Linked DNA regions of Homo sapiens: all the other regions are linked to region 1. Evidence: promoter capture Hi-C in 16 types of primary human blood cells and fetal thymus (Javierre and others, 2016). All regions are on one chromosome and are shown on one strand. The core of a region is centred on a gene start or on the middle of the fragment in contact, and the rest is flanking DNA. Distances in the headings are between cores, read along the strand shown.

What was found. Contacts are between HindIII fragments. The CHiCAGO score rates a contact against its expected background, and 5 or more counts as called.
Region 2: a contact is called between a fragment that was not itself captured here and the fragment with the promoter of ADRA2A in region 1, in 4 of 17 cell types (M2 macrophages, endothelial precursors, megakaryocytes and 1 more). The highest score is 6.7, in M2 macrophages.
Region 3: a contact is called between a fragment that was not itself captured here and the fragment with the promoter of ADRA2A in region 1, in 3 of 17 cell types (M2 macrophages, M0 macrophages and M1 macrophages). The highest score is 7.8, in M2 macrophages.

The regions. Positions count from the first base shown.
Region 1 is chr10:111,074,971-111,078,473 of GRCh38, reverse strand. ADRA2A (adrenoceptor alpha 2A) reads right to left here and starts at 1,445. Exons shown (of 1, transcript NM_000681.4): 1 at 1-1,445. The coding sequence starts at 477. RefSeq lists a silencer at 1,433-1,482. The HindIII fragment of the contact is 6,739 bases long and covers 1-3,503 here.
Region 2 is chr10:112,135,868-112,138,969 of GRCh38, reverse strand. No RefSeq gene overlaps it. Among named protein-coding and RNA genes, the nearest start is that of GPAM, 46 kb to the left of the region's middle. The HindIII fragment of the contact is 1,434 bases long and covers 633-2,066 here.
Region 3 is chr10:112,316,840-112,320,103 of GRCh38, reverse strand. It overlaps the pseudogene GUCY2GP. Among named protein-coding and RNA genes, the nearest start is that of MIR6715B, 19 kb to the right of the region's middle. The HindIII fragment of the contact is 4,938 bases long and covers 1-3,264 here.

The DNA.
Region 1 (3,503 bases), core at 196-2,695:
CTTCAGGTTGTACTCGATGGCCTGTGTGATGGACCAGTAGCGGTCCAGGCTGATGGCGCACAGGTGCACGATGGACGACGTGCAGAAGAGCACGTCGAGCGCCAGGTAGATCTCGCACCAAGCCTTGCCGAAGTACCAGTAGCCCATGACCTCGTTGGCCAGCGAGAAAGGGATGACGAGCGTGGCCACCAGGATGTCGGCCGAGGCCAGAGACACCAGGAAGAGGTTTTGGGGCGCCTTGAGCGCGCGGCTCGTGAACACGGCGATGATGACGAGCACGTTGCCGAACACGGTGAGCAGCATGAGCAGGCCGGCCAGGCACACCAGCGTCAGCGTCACCTGCAGGGAGTAAGGGGTGGCCCGGGCGCCGCCCCCCGGCGCCTCGGTCCCGTTCCAGCTCGCGTTGCCCGCGTCCGGCTGCAGGGAGCCCATGGGCGCAAAGCTGCCCTCGGCCAACGGCTGCTCCTGGCGGAACATGAACGCGGGCGCCCGCTGGCCTGGGCCTGCTGCCAGCTGCCTTCCGGCCCGGCGCCCGTGGGTCCTCCTCTTCCTCCGGCGCCCCGCTCGCCTGGCTGCGGCTCACATAGGGAGGGGGCCGCAGGGAGGCCGGGCCCGAACTGGAGGACCGCTAGCGGCCCATGGCCCGGGTCCCGCGAACTGCGCCTGGCTCGCGCTTCAGACGCTCTCGGTGGGCGCCTTCTTGCTCCGAGCTCCTAATACAGCCAAGTTTTATTTCTAAGCGGCGGGAGAGAGTAGGGAGAGCCGATGGGTAAAGAGAGATTTATTCTTCAAGAAGGGAGAACAAAAATCATCGGTGGCCTGATAACTTGGAAGGATGACAGGAAATTAAATATATATATACATATCAATATCTGTATCTTGAATCTTGAGCCTGAGCGAAAGCAAGAGGTCTTACCGTGTGCGGGGCCCGCCCCCACCCCGGGAGGCAGCCGAAGGGTGCTGATGCGAGCTCGGGGGTCCTATGTCTGTCGCCTTACATCCCCGAAGCGATTACCGACTCTCTGGCTTCCCCCAGACGCTGCGGTTCTGGCCCGGCCCGGCCCGGGGCTGGGGCGCGGACTCTGCCGCCTCTCGGAGCGCCGCGAGACTTCCAAAGTTGTGCGCCCTGCTGGGGCTGGGGCACACTGTGCGGAGCTCCGGGACGGCGGCGGCGGCGGGGTGAGGAGTGTGGGGGCCGCATGAAGGCACCCCCGTCCTCAGGCGGGCCGGGGCAGGTGAACGATCAGCTCTCCAGGAGCCGCGACGGAGGCAGGGGTTCTCCTGGGCGTCCGCCTGGTGGGCGCCGAGCGCTGCTGGATGGGCCGGGGTCCGACGACAGCGCGAGTTGGGGCAGGAGCGCAAGGCGGGGAAGAAGGCGCTGGAGTGGCCGGGCGGCGGCACGCCGGCTGCTGGGCTTCTGCACCGAGCTGGAGCTGCTGCTGCTCCGCTGCGCTCACGGTGGACTCGTTTTATAGCCCCAGGATCAAGCAAGCGTTGCTGAGCAGCCGGCGTCAGCCCCCACGTGGGAAGCCGACCCTCCCCCGCCCCTCGCACCACCCCTCCGCCAGTCTAGCGCCCGCGCCTAGCGCTGGACCTCGGGGAGCGTTGCCCTCAGGCGGGACGAGCCCTTTGGAGAGGCGGGTACCTTGAGCTAGAGACTTAAAGAGGGAGCCCGGGGGTGGGGGGTAGGGGAGGAGCGGCCCCTGCTGGGAGTTGGCCATGCAGCTCCGGGCCGACGGAGCAGAACGCAACGGGCACCCGTGAGTGCCCCCAAGAAGCTGGATCTTGGGAGAAAAGGGAAGAAAAAAATGGAAGGGAATCCCCGCCCAAATCGAGGGAAGTAACCTCCGGTGTGAGTTACGTCTGGAGCAGCCCAGCTCCGGGCCAGAGCCGACGCGGTCCGCAGGTGCTCCTGGAGGCTGGGGAGAAAGGGGTCCTGGAGAGGGAGGAAGGCGCGGCTTCGGATGGAACCCCTGGGGCGGAATGGACAGCACCCACGGGGAAGTGGTACAAGCCGGAGTTCAGACCTCCGCTTAGGGAAGAAGCGGCTACGTGTCCTCCCAGCCGCGATGCTGTCTGCGGGAAACGCAAGACCCGGGGTCTGGACCGCGCCCCCTTAGACCGAGGTGGGGAGGGGTCCAGGAGCCGAGCGCCAGGGCAAAGCGAGGACGCACTGACACCTGCTGGCCGCTCGTGGTCACGGCTGAGAAGCGACCCGCTGACGCCAGGCGCCTCCTCCCGTCTCTTAGGTCTTCTGCCAACAGAGCCTTCTCCTATCTCCGAACAAATTGGTTTCTAAGCTCAGGAAAGGAGAACCCAGAGTTTGAATTGCACCCTGCCGTGTTGCAGAAATCTTCCTAAAGCAGATACTCGTGTGTCTACCCCTGGCGGGAGTGGGGGTTTGTCTAATAAAGTCACATCAGGAAGGGCTCAGCAGGCACCGCCGGCCAGAACGGGCATCCCACTCTGGACCCGCACAGCCCACCCTTCCTGCAGATCCGAGAGAGGCCAGGATCCTGCCTCCTTGGTTGCACAGCTCTGGCTTGCTGGGAATCATTATGTTTTTGTTGAGGACCGAAAGCTAGACTCCACTCCCGCCCCGCATCCCACCCCCATTCAGATGTACACACAGCATCCTTCAATAAGGGGAAGAGGGAGTAGAATATTTTCCATGTTCTCTCTGATAAGAATAGCGGTGGGGGCGGGGGGGAGTGGGTGTGCGGCGAATGGCAAGTTTTTCCGTGCGTGCTAGCTGTCCTAGGATAGATTTTAACGGTCACTAGAGCACTAGCTTGCACCCTGCTAGCTGCACTTTTCAGATGAGAGCAAGCAGTTTAATGGTAAAACCCAAGAGGGTAGGAAATTTCAGCAGGAGAGAGATTAGACTTAAAGGAATGTCGTCTTATTTAAGGAACCACTAAACCAAAATGCCTTGTGCAGTCACCTAAGTTGGAATTCCAAGGATGGAACAGGCTGCCTCTCTGTGCAGCCAGCTGCAGGCTTAGGTCTGGCTGGGGGCTGATGGCTAAATTAAGGGCCCTGAGAATCACCTTCATTCCCAGCTGATGTCTATAGCCCGCACCAGTGATACAGTTATTGGTGCTGCTGCTGTTCATGTAGTCTCAAAATCTGTACTTTCCAAAGTATTTCACAGAAGTCTCATTTGACTTCAGTACCTTTGTCTCCCAATCTTTGCCCTAATGGTATAAACTCCCTTTCCAGTGTTAGTTCTGAGGAGCCTTTCTAATCTCCCTTTCTGGACAATCTAAAGGAAGCTGAGAAGACAATTTCCTCGCTCTGTTGAGTCACTCATTTTCCATCTTCTACTAAAGTCTCTGCTCTGAGGCTCTTGGCAGGGGCTTTGGACATCGCCAGTAGGCTCAGTTGGAAACATGGCTACAGTCATTTTTGCACAGCAACTAGGAACCCCACACTTCAAGTATGAATACTAAGAGACAAAAATCAGAGCCCGTGGCAATCTGGGGTTTGCTGTGTTGCTGTTT
Region 2 (3,102 bases), core at 100-2,599, 1.1 Mb before region 1:
ACTGACCCCATGATTCAGTTATTTTCCACCAGGTCCCTCCCACAACAGATGGTAATTATGGGAGCTACAATTCAAGATAAGATTTGGGTGGGGACACAGCCAAACCATATCAAGGCTGAAGGCAGCATCTGAGCTGAGAGGGATGCCAGAGGGCCAGGTAGGGAAGCTGTTGAAGGGGGGTAATGAAGACTCAAGCTTTTTAAAGAGCATTTTTTTCCCTCCGCTGATCTGTATACAGTGTCCTGAGTGGAAGGGGAGGAAAAGAAACCATAGTCCAGAAAGAGATGCTGGTAGCTTGGGTGGGGACGCAGAGAAATGGGTGGATTTGGGCATTCTGGAGACCGGTGAGCAGGCTCTCTCCACCATACAGGGATAGGGCACACTGTCAAGGTAAACTCCAGTGGCTTAGGGTGGGGTGGAGGACAGCTGCCTCCAGAGCACAGAGAGGGAGGGGTCCTGAGGCCATGTGCAGTCTGGGAGGTAAAGTGTGATGTGTTTGACAGCCCTAGTGCAGCACAGCACAGGAGGGGTAGTGTGAGATTGGCAGTTGGATCTGACATTCGATGAATGGCCTCCCAACTCCTCGAGGGCAGGAACCGTGCTTGATTCACTGTTGTGTCTCTTAAAAAGCTTTTCCTGGGCTATGGGGAAGTGGCCTCTCTGACAAGCATAGGGATTTGATATTGTTGGAGAAATGGGTGCCAATGGGTCTGGATGGGCTTCTCTTGCCACATGCCACCTGCTGTCTTGGGAGCACCTAGGGATGCCTCCAGTGGCTGCAGAGTGAGGGTGAGGGCGGGTCATTGCTTTTCTCCCCCGCCCTCCATTGCTGTGCCTAGGGGACTCCAAGCCCGCTTGGTCCTCTCAGATGTTGCCTAGGCAGTGAGCTCAGGATCTCCCTCACTCCCCTTTAGGGTCCACTGGTTACACCTTGGCCTTTGAAAAGTGGAATGCTCCTGATTTCAAGTCATATGGTATAGAAGCCTACTTCCTCTCAGAAGGGGAAAGCGGTGCCTCGCGTGCCGCCTAGAAATACCTCTTTAATGTCTAAATCACCATGTTGGAACTTCACTCCTAACAGAGACTGTGCCAGCTGCACCTAAAAAACCCACCATATTATCCCTTATTATTCATTTACAGTGTAAATTTTACACATTGATAGACATAAGATTGGCAAAGCAAACTGGGGAAGAGTGGGAGGGAGAATGCGTGGCTTTGTGTCTGAGATCTGTGGGAAGAAGGGGGAAATGCTGAGAAGGGACAAGGGGAGGGATGCTGGGGCTGGAAGCAAGTGTCCTGCACTGCACAGTCTTGCCCTGAGCTTGTGCCTGCCTGGGAACTTGAATCCTCCTTCCTCAGTAAAGGAGCCGGGGGCACCTGCCATTTTTTCCACTAGAGGGCGCCAGCACCCTGCAATGCAGCCTGGAGGTTTGGGACCTGGCTGGGAAGACAGCTGAGAATGGAAGAGGTTTGGGGCGTCTCAGGGCCTCAGAAGCACCGTGTACCTGGAATCCCTTGCCTTGCATCCCCTGAGCTCCCTGCTCCCCTCTGCTGCTCCAATGGGGCTGCATTTCCTTGGGTATCTCCCAATCCATCTCTGGCCCCATGTTCGCCAGCATGAGCCCTTGGTTGTGGGAGCTCCAGCTAGACGTGGGGACTTCAGGAAGCTGTGATGAGCACCAGAGGGACTCCTGAGCTGCTATGTGCAGCTAGGTCTGCCTGCCCTGGAGCCTCCGGTTCCTATGGCCTCCTCCCTGGAGGGAGAGTTTGCTAGGAGAAGAGAGCTTGTCTTTGCGTATTTTGTTTATTCTCTATTTCCTTAGGGCCTCACTGGACCCTGCACTGAGTAGGTACTCCTCAAATCCACTGCACCTGTGTGCATGCTGGGCATTGGCCCTGGCAGCTGCTATGCAGTGTGGGAGTAGAGCCCCGGGAACAGTGAGTGGGTGAGAAGGCTCAGCTGGTGTGCAAAATGGGATCAGAGCAGAGCTGGGAGGCTGGGGATGCTGGGTGTGGAGGGAGGAGAGGAAGAGGAAGGAGAGGGCAATGAGCTGGTCTTGGAAGCTTGGGGAAGCATTCAGACAGGCACAGAGGAGCCACATTAAACAAGGGTTTGGCCCAGTAGCCACCTGGGCTGCCAGTGTTCTAGAACTAGGAAACCAACCCAGGAAGCTGGCTCTGCTCCTGGCCCCCAAAGCCCTTTCCTCTAGGCTGTTCTAGGCCAAGGAACGGAGGGGAAATGTTTTCCTTATTCCATTCTGGCCTTTAGCTGTGGTATCGCCTGCCAAGCTCTCTGGAGGATCCAGGGGGACCGGCCATCAGATCCCCCCAAACAGCTGTGCTCTTCTGTCCAGACACTGTTCAGCCACAGCCTTGGGCTGGGCCTTTCCTCTGTGTCCTGGGCCGAGGACCCAGAGCTGCTGGGGGCCTGTGTGCCCCACAGGATCCATGAAGGTCTCCACAGCTGCAGGTGCAGGTGTCATAATCTGCATAAGTTGCAGTTCATGTGATTGTCACCGCCAGAATCTCTGAATATTGCTCACCTGGGTATGGAGCTGCCCGAAGTTCTTGTGTGGGTTTTCAGCCATACTTACATGGGTTATAGGCATGCTGGACCATTGGTAAAATCACATTGGCAGGCTGTGTTTTCTTCTCCCAGCTGTTAAAGCTGCAATTCTGGCAGTCAGAAGACGTCGCTTACTTGGTGGTTTCTAGCAGCCAATTCCCCTGTCTGAAAAGGATCCCTCATGGGGTTTGTTGTGTTATGGGCTTGTCTGAAATGTTAACCTATTTGTTCTTAAATGTCATCGGTGAGTGATTTTTATCACAATGAGAGTCTCATTGATGAAAGTCGTTGAGAGCCCGAGGACTTTGTGCAGAGTCTCTGTGGACCACGAGGGAATCTAGCAGAGAGGGGAGGTGGGTGGGTTGGATGTGGTGGTGCCTTTCAAGCTGAGGCCATGGGAGCTGCTTCGGGCTGGCCATTTGGGCAGTTCCCTTCAGTACAGGCCTCACCCCCAAGCAATGTTGTGTTACAAAGGCAGGTTCACCTGAAACTGGGAGGCAATGGGCAATGGTCAGATTTCCATCCATTTCCTGTCA
Region 3 (3,264 bases), core at 317-2,816, 1.2 Mb before region 1:
ATTTCCTTACTTTCTGGTAAGACAAGAAAGTCTCATTTTGCATATCCCTGCGCCAGTGCTAGAAGCAACCAGTTCTCTCCAACAAGCCCTGGCTGCTTTTGTTGGAGAAAGGTATTAGAAAGTTAGAGCTGACACTAGATACGCTCATTGCTACCGGAGTGTTGTTGCTTATGGGCCTTCTCAGTGGACAGAGTAGGGAAATGCGTGTGCATACTAACCCGTATGTATACATATCTCTATAACTACACATGCACCCATACACATATATCTGCATCTACATTAAACTAAACATGAGTTCCCATTGACGTCTCCAAATCTAACTCATCGCCATCACGGTTCATTGCAGTCTTCCCCATTACTTTTCTGTAAATTCCAACATTGAGATACTGGCTCCCACCATCCACCATCCATGTACTTTGTTCGATCCCTATGTGTGTGTTCGGTGATTTTAGACTTGTTAATCTGCATCCCCATGAGAAACAGTTTTACCAACTAGAGTACGATGATTATGAATAGTTCCTTTTGCCTTTAGTCTTAGAAAGTTTCTAGTGATTTCACAAGCGATGTAGGTCAGCATTCTTTCTCACTCATCCCATTCAGTAAGGTTATGCCATATATTTGTAACACTGTTAGATTCTTTTATCGCTGTTTGCATTCTATCTTGGGGTTGCCTAATTTCCCAATTGGTATTTTTTAAAGTTTGCTTTCCTTATGGCTTACTTTTGTGCTATTAAGCTCTATGGGTTTTGGTAAATACATAGTGTCATCTATCCACCACTATAGTATCCTACAGAAAAGTTTCCTCATCCTAAAATTATCCCCTGCACTTCACCTAGTCAACGCTCTCTGCTCCTCAAACTCTTGGAAAACACTGATCTGTTTTCTGTCTCTAAAATTTTGTCTTTTCTAGAATGTATATTTCCTTAATTTCTGGGAAGACAAGAAAGTCTCATTTTGCATATCTCCTGCCCCAGTGCTAGATGCAGTCAATTCTCCAAGAAGCCATGACTTCTTTTGTTGGAGAAAGGTATTAGAAAGTAAGCAGATAACGAGGTCAAGAGATCGAGACCATCCTGGCCAACATGGTGAAACCCCATCTCCACTAAAAGTACAAAAATTAGCTGGGCGTGGTGGCGCATGCCTGTAGTTCCAGCTACTGGGGAACCTAAGGCAGAAGAGTCGCTTGAACCCAGGAGGCGGAGGTTGCAGTAAGCGGAGATCACACCACTGCACTCCAGCCTGGGCAACAGGGCCAGAGTCTATCTCAAAAAAAAAAAAAAAAAAAAGAAAAAAAAAAGAAAAGAAAAAAGAAAGAAAGAAAGAAATGATGCTAGATATGCCCACTGCTGCTTGCGTGTTGTTGCTTCTGGGGTGCCATGTAAATAGAATCATACAGTACACAGCCTTTTCTGACTGGTTTCTCTAACTTAGTAATAATGCATGTAAGACTTATCCATGTTGTTGCACACACAGTATTTTTATTTTTATGCCAAAACATGTATACATTGTTCTCAAAATATTATTTTCTTGACAACATCTGGTTAAGCAGAATGTTTAATAAATGTCAGTAGGAGCCAGTGAAGAAGTGGGAAAAATTAGGTTTAGAAAATCGGACAGAGAGGCAGGACATGATGGTAACATTTATTACGTGTTAAAATAGCATTTCTGCGACATATTACAGAAAATTTAACAAAATTGCATGAAGCGCGCTTTGGGGGTTTCCAACACGAAATGCCTATACATTCCTGAAATCATATAGAGATATGCTTCTCCTCAAGCAAAGTTCTATTTTAAAAAATCTTGATTTGAAAACAAATTAATTAGGAGGATGTTTGTTTATATGTTTTTCATTAGAATTGTTCATTTTCCAGGCAGATTCTCAGAGTATTCCTATTAAAATATCCAGATTACTTTGGAATTCTAATCTGTTCTATTTATTTAAAAACTCAGTTTACAAATATAAGAGCACAATTACTATTGAAAATGAAGTGTAGTAAGTGGCACAAAGTTCTGATGTTTGGCTGTCTAAACCCAACATGAATTTCAGAAATCATCAACCAAATCAAAGACCCTGCAGCAGCAGTCCCACTGCAACCTTCCCTGCCCGAGGAGAAGGGCAATGAAAAGATCGTGGCCATGGTGAGGGTGTGTTGGGATGAATCTCTGGAGAAAAGACCCAGTTTCTCTTCCATCAAGAAAACTTTACGAGAGGCCAGTCCCAGAGGGTGAGTTAGATGTGCAACAGATATTTGCTCTCACTCAGTTAACCATTAGGATTTTAGAGCTGCTGGGCATGGTGGCTCATGCATGTAATCCCAGTGATTTAGGAGGCTAAGGCAGGAGGATCCCTTGAGGCCGGGAGTTCAAGACCAGCCTGGGCAACATGGTGAGTTTCTGTATCTATAAAAAATAAAATAAAATAAAAAATTAGCCAGGCGTGGTGGTGTGAGCCTGTAGTTTGAGTTTCTTAGGGGGGCTGAGAATTGCTTGAGCCCTGGAGGTCAAGGCTGCAGTGAGCTATGATTGTGCCACTGCACTCCAGCCTGGGTGACAGAACGAGACCCTGTTTCTAAAAAACAAAACAAAACAAAATTAAATCTATATGGCCGTGATTGGTTCTATGTGACTCATTCCCTTCCTCCCTCCTCCCTTCCTCCATTCCTCCCTTCCTCCCTTCCTTCCTTCCTTTCTTCCTTCCTCATACACTCACTCAGTGCTTACCATACACAAAACACTGTACTACATGCTGGTTACAGTGGAGTGAGAAATTTTTCCTTTATTTCATAAATGCCACAAAAATGGATCAGATATTAATAATTCTACTGCCTTCTTTGTCTATCTCAGGTGTCACTAATCAATTAAGGCCCTTGTTTCCAGGGAGTTTTGACATGGCTTCAGAGTCTTTTTCAAATCAGCATTCCAAGGGTTAGGCTAATCAATTTGGACTGGACTGTGGGATAAAAATTACTCACCACCCATAGAGTAGGTTATGACTTAAATTACGCATTCCTCTCCAACAACTTTCTCAATAGTAGCTTCCTTTACACCAGATAATTGTATCATCTTTTAGTACATGAATTTAGGAAGACATGCCCATGTTAGAGGTAGCTTGAGTTGGTAGAAAGAGCCCCAGGCTAGGAATCAGGTGTCTACTCTTAATTTGGACCTTCAGCTATGCATTATTTAAAAAAACAAAACAAAACATTTTTTGGAGTCAGGGTCTGGCTCTGTTGCACAGGCTGGAGTGCAGTGGCATGATCTTGG